Linked DNA regions of Homo sapiens: region 1 is linked to region 2. Evidence: promoter capture Hi-C in 16 types of primary human blood cells and fetal thymus (Javierre and others, 2016). All regions are on one chromosome and are shown on one strand. The core of a region is centred on a gene start or on the middle of the fragment in contact, and the rest is flanking DNA. Distances in the headings are between cores, read along the strand shown. Region 1 holds the start of XRCC4 (X-ray repair cross complementing 4). Region 2 holds the start of SERINC5 (serine incorporator 5).

Evidence for each region. Contacts are between HindIII fragments. The CHiCAGO score rates a contact against its expected background, and 5 or more counts as called.
Region 1: a contact is called between a fragment that was not itself captured here and the fragment with the promoter of SERINC5 in region 2, in 1 of 17 cell types (total B cells). The highest score is 6.4, in total B cells.

The regions. Positions count from the first base shown.
Region 1 is chr5:83,077,379-83,080,078 of GRCh38, reverse strand. It overlaps XRCC4 (X-ray repair cross complementing 4), which reads right to left and starts at 2,532. Exons shown (of 8, transcript NM_003401.5): 1 at 2,464-2,532. It overlaps TMEM167A (transmembrane protein 167A), which reads left to right and starts at 2,685. Exons shown (of 4, transcript NM_174909.5): 1 at 2,685-2,700. RefSeq lists enhancers at 1,638-2,603, 2,678-2,700, 2,604-2,700 and a silencer at 2,528-2,617. The HindIII fragment of the contact is 737 bases long and covers 965-1,701 here.
Region 2 is chr5:80,254,771-80,257,470 of GRCh38, reverse strand. SERINC5 (serine incorporator 5) reads left to right here and starts at 1,423. Exons shown (of 12, transcript NM_001174072.3): 1 at 1,423-1,575. The coding sequence starts at 1,549. RefSeq lists enhancers at 1-323, 324-1,257 and silencers at 1,111-1,550, 1,661-1,940. The HindIII fragment of the contact is 9,277 bases long and covers 897-2,700 here.

The sequences.
Region 1 (2,700 bases), core at 84-2,583, 2.8 Mb before region 2:
AAGACAAAGCCATGCACAGTAATAGCCAACACTTTCTGAGTGCTTACTGTATGCCAAACATTTGCCTAGATGATTTACTTGTAATAACTCATGTAATCCTCATAACACTGAGGACACCTGTGCACTGGCGCCACAGAAAACTACAAATATCCACTATTTTTACATACGATTTTAATATACCCATGAAACCAAAGTTGGAAATATTCTTCCAGATGCAGGTGAGATAATACTTTTTGAACAGGCCAGACGTGGTGCGGTGGCCTACACCTGTAATCCCAGCACTTTGGGAGGCCGAGGCGGGAGGATCACTTGAGCCCAGGAGTTTGAGACCAGCCTAGGCAACATAGTGAGCCCTGTCTCTACAAAAAATAAAATAAAATTAGCCAAGTATGGTGGCATGCAACCATGGTCCCGGTTACTGGGGATACTGAGGGAGGAGGATAGATCGCTTCTGCCCTGGAGGTTGAGGCTGCAGTGAGTCATGATTGTGCCACTGCACTCCACCCTGGGCAACAGAGCAAGATCCTGTCTCAAAAATAAAAATAAATAATAATTTTTGAACAAAGGAATAACACAGACAGATTTTATTTCTAGTAAGGAAAGGATCCAAGATGGTTTTAAATGAGGATTCACTGCAAAGCTGCCAGAAAGATTTTAGAAATTGTGATATAATCTGAAAACCAAAAAGTAGGGGGTTTATGTAAGACAATGGAGCTAAACTACCACCTCCCAAAAAAAACTCACCACGTCAGATTAACTTTGATGTTTTACATAAATGCAATAAACATTATACATATTTGTTCAGCCTCATTTATTGGCATATGTGTTTCTCTATAGATAACTTAAAAACTGGCAATGCCGTTCTTTACTGTTTTGAAGCTCAGGTACATAAGAAGTCATAGCCTAAAATTAATTAAAATATATAGATATAGCAAATCAATTGTGATCTCTAACAAGTTAAGCTTTCTGATGCTTTTCACAGGTAGCCTGAAGCAGAGCTTCATACAGAAGTATTACCTTTATATGTAACAAAGATCAAGACAATCTTCACATGAAACCAAGGGCAGTTATGTCTACAGACACATTTACTGCCCTAAAAGCCAAGCTCGATAAATTGCACAACATAATTTCCATAACTAAACCAGGTTTGTTTAATTTGAATGGCAAGACCTAAAAGGTATAATATAAAGGAATTACAAGACAGAACATTAAAAGACTTTTTTTATCCTTAGGTGGAGAGTACTGTATCTTTTAAATACCTTTCTTATTCCCCTCTCCCCCAACCTTATTAAATTCCTTAAAGGAACAGACCATCTTTGTTCCTATGCTGCAATCTGAAGATCCATGAATAAAGCAGGCACCCAGTAAATACTTGCTAATTTGTGTATTTGACCAACTCTTGACAATTCAATATAACAGACTCAAATATCAAGTTAGTTATAGTTTAAAACAAAACCTTTGTGTGCCCTAGTGAACAATGTAAACACAAATAGCAGAATCCCAAATCTTCTAATCATTGTGTTGCCCTAAATACAAAAGGGTCTCATAGGCCGAATACAGTTCATAAACCAAAATCTCACGTGAGTTACCTTCTCTCTTTCTCTCTATCCACCTTCTAAGTCCATAAAAAATTGAAAACATTCTGAAAAGAACTCTCTCCTGCCTGAGAAAAAATACACCACACATTTAGAACCAAAAGCTTGCCATAAGGGGGCAAAGAGTGAAAAACTCTCATTTCTAATACTTTATTAGAATTCCAAGAACTACGCAAATTCAAACATGTCAAAGCGCCTGTTTCTCCATCGATAAAATGCAGAAAGAAAAACGTGTGTGTGTAGTAGAACCTCACCTAATGGGATAATTAAAATCAGAAAAAGCTAAATACTACTACTGATTAAAAGTTGCCTTGTCATTTGTCTTGCCAGTTGATCTCTTTAAAGTACCTAATCAATCGCTGCAGTCCGCAAACGGCAGTTCCTTCCCATTGGTTACCACAGAAAGTTCTTTCCTGACCTCAAATTGCCTAGTACGTTTCAGCCTCGATGCCTGGTTGGAACCCACAGTTTACCAATATCTGGGGATTGAAAGGACAGGCCAGTGCTGGGGAAATGCTCAAACAGCCTACTCAACACTACCCTCTGGATTCAACCGTCCTCCCAATCCCACAACCAACACAGAGCATTTCAAAAGTGCTTCGCATTCCCAAGAATCCCTCAGATGCAAACGGAGAAACTGAAAAGGGGGTGAACAGGTCGCACCCTGAGGATAATGCCGAGAACCCTAGCATCCCCAAAAGCCCACAAGAGGAAGTCGCGGGAGCTCACAAATTGAGGGGGATTCTCGCATTGTGGAGTTCTAGGGGTAAGTAGCAGGGAACTTTTTTAAAAAGAAAGCAAAAAGATAAAAAGAACAGAACCTCAGATTTTTGTTATTTAAAGAGGCAGCCCCACTTCCGGATCCTACCTCTCCGTGACTCTACTTCCGGTATCTTCCAAAACGCCCGCTTTCACAGATCAAGGTTTTGCAACCAATGAGAGTATCAGCTACTTCCGCCGGCCTGCGGGACGTGATCTAAATCCCGCCTTTTCCGGTGGAGAGGAGCCTATCCTAGTGTCTTAACCGCCCGTCTTGGTAGGCGGTGCCGTGACAAGCCCAACCGGACGGCTGGAGAGGGCGAGAAGGGCAGACGGGACATGCAGC
Region 2 (2,700 bases), core at 174-2,673:
CTGAGATGCTGGAAAATCCTGCGCAGCTCATAACCCAAGGCCTGGTTTCCATTCACCTTTCCTCTTCTACTCCTAAGCTGCCCAAGACACTCCTTTGCCAGAGCTCTGTCTGGAAACGAGTCCCTCTAAGGTCAAGCCTTGCGTCATGTGCCAGGGGATCAGACGAGTGGATTCCAGGCCCAGTTTTACTTCCTCAACTTTGCTGTGAGGCTTTGGGCAAGTTATTTAACCTCTCTGGGCTTCAGTTGCCTCACCGCTAAAATGGGTACGGTAATGCTTATTTGAAAGAGCAAAGGGATTGGCGCAAAAATCGCACTAACAGAAATATCTTCATTCCGGCAGGGCGCGGTGGCTCACGCCTGTAATCCCAGCACTTTGGGAGGCCGAGGCGGGCGGATCACCTGAGGTCAGGAGTTCGAGACCAGCCTGGCCAAGATGGTGAAACCCCGTCTCTACTAAAAATACAAAAAATTAGCCGGGCGTGGTGGCAGGCGCCTGTAATCCCAGCTACTCGGGAGGCAGAGGTTGCAGTGAGCCGAGATCGCGTCACTGCACTCCAGCCTGGGCGACAGAGTGAAGCTCCGTCTCAGAGAAAAAAAAGAAAAAAAAAAAAGAAATACCTTCATTCCTCTTGGGGAGGTGGCTGTGAGGACAGCAGATCTGAGTGGGAGAAAACCTAGAGACGGCCTCCCTGCCTTCTGTATGGAACAAGCAATTATTGGGCACCCTCTTTTTAGTGAGGAAGCAGGGACGGAAAATGAGTCCTTGGGCCAGCGCAGGAGGAGAGGCTGGAAAACATATCAATATTCAGGAAGGCACGGAAAGGGCTCTCAATGGATCTCTCACCAAGTGCCATCAGGGCAGAACAGTCAAGGGCCCAGGGATTCGAGGAAGCTTGGGAGGCGCGGAGAGCCCAAAAGTTGAAAGTTTTCTTGGCAGATGAGGGAAGGAAAGGGATTTCAGGAACAAGGATCTCGTGGGTGGGCTGTCCCAGTCGGCGCGCGGCAGAGCGCAGACCAGCACCCGGCGGTCTGGTCTGTGCAGGAAAGGCAGGAACCGCTTACTAAGGCTCCAACCTTTTAGAGGCAGCAACAAGCTCTTTCTCTGGATCCGAAGGCGGAGAGGCGCTGCGCTCTCATTTGGCGAGGGCCCGAGCGCGGCCAGACCGCGCACCAGACCCGGAGCGTGGGGCCCAAAGGCTGGCGGCCGACTCCGGAGCTCGGCGCCCCAACCGGGAAGTGATCGCAGCAGCCCACCCGCCTGACGCCAGCGGAAGTGCGAGCCCGGGTCGAGCCTGCTCCGCCGCCGGGCGCCCGGGAAGGGGCGGGCACGGGGCGGGGCTGGGGGCGGGCGAGGCGGGGCCGGCGGCGGGGCGGGGCTTGGCCGCAGTTGTTTTTACCCAGGCCTCGGCGCCTAGGCGCTTCGCCGAGGCTGATCTTCGTTCAAGTGTGAGCTGCGGCTGAGCCCAGCGCTCGAGGCGCGAGGCAGCCAGGAGGGCCCGTGCGGCGCGGGGAGCCAGCGAGCGCGCCTTCGGCATTGGCCGCCGCGATGTCAGCTCAGTGCTGTGCGGGCCAGGTGAGCGAGGCCGGGCGCAGCGCGGGGGTTGTCAGATCGGAGAACCGGGCCAGGAGTCCAGGCGTGGAGGACCTGCCTGGGTGCGCTCCCAGCTCCGCGGCCGAACGTAGGGCCCGGGTGGGTCGCTCGGGCTGGCCCCGCGGCGCTCAGCCGTCCGGGAAATCCTGTGCCCTGGGCGGGCGGGAAGGGGCAGGGGGAAGCCCGAGAGGCTACCCCGGGGTCTTCCCGTCCGGCCTCCGGGACTCCGCGTGGAGCGGGGCGTGCCGGGCTCGGGCGGAGGATCCCGACTGCTCCAGGGGCGTGTCGCCTCTTGCGCCGAGCACTGGTGAATAGCGCTGAGCTCCGTAGCCCTCTCCACTCTGCTTGTCGGATGAATCCAGGAAGAAAAGTGGGTTTAGGCACCGTCTCCTTTGCTATGCCCTGAATAAAACTCGGGTCAAACAACCCAGGCAGGTTGCGCTTGGCATCTCGTAGTCGAGCGTGGGCTCTGTACCTTTGAGAATGTCTCGAAGCCTGACTTCCAAACTACCGGGCGCAGGTCTGGGCGAAGGGAAAACTCAGCCCTGCTTCCTGAATTTCCCGACCCAACCCTGGCTCGGTACTAGCACGACTGCCTGGGTAGGGCTGGAACCTTCCTGCCTCTCTTTGCAAATAAACTTGTTCGAACCTGTTTTTTAACTCTCGCCTATTTAAACCTATGATGTCTTAAAACATTATGTCTCCTACCAGTTACTGCATCAGTGTAGAATTAGTACGTCTTAGCCCTGTAATGCTGGTTTCACTCCTTCCTGCAGAGTTAGAAAAAACGAAGTAGGTGAGTCTCTTGGATGTGGAGCTCTTTTCTCCCTTTACATGTGGATTATCAGCGTTTCGGTACAGAGTTTTAATGGAGTGTTTTCACGAACGAATCAGACTCTAGGGAGCATCCTGGTTCGGGGTGTTCTTGCTGACACTCAGCCTTTCCACAATCGAGGCCAGCTGTAAGTGATGGAGTGGTTAAACTGTGGGTTTCTGTAACCGGCGATTATACTGGCAGATAATCTGTCCTGTTTAGAGTGGCCACGTGGAGCTGTCTTGGTTTTTGAGGTCTAATACTGTGCTTGGCATACATTAAAGCTGGCCTTT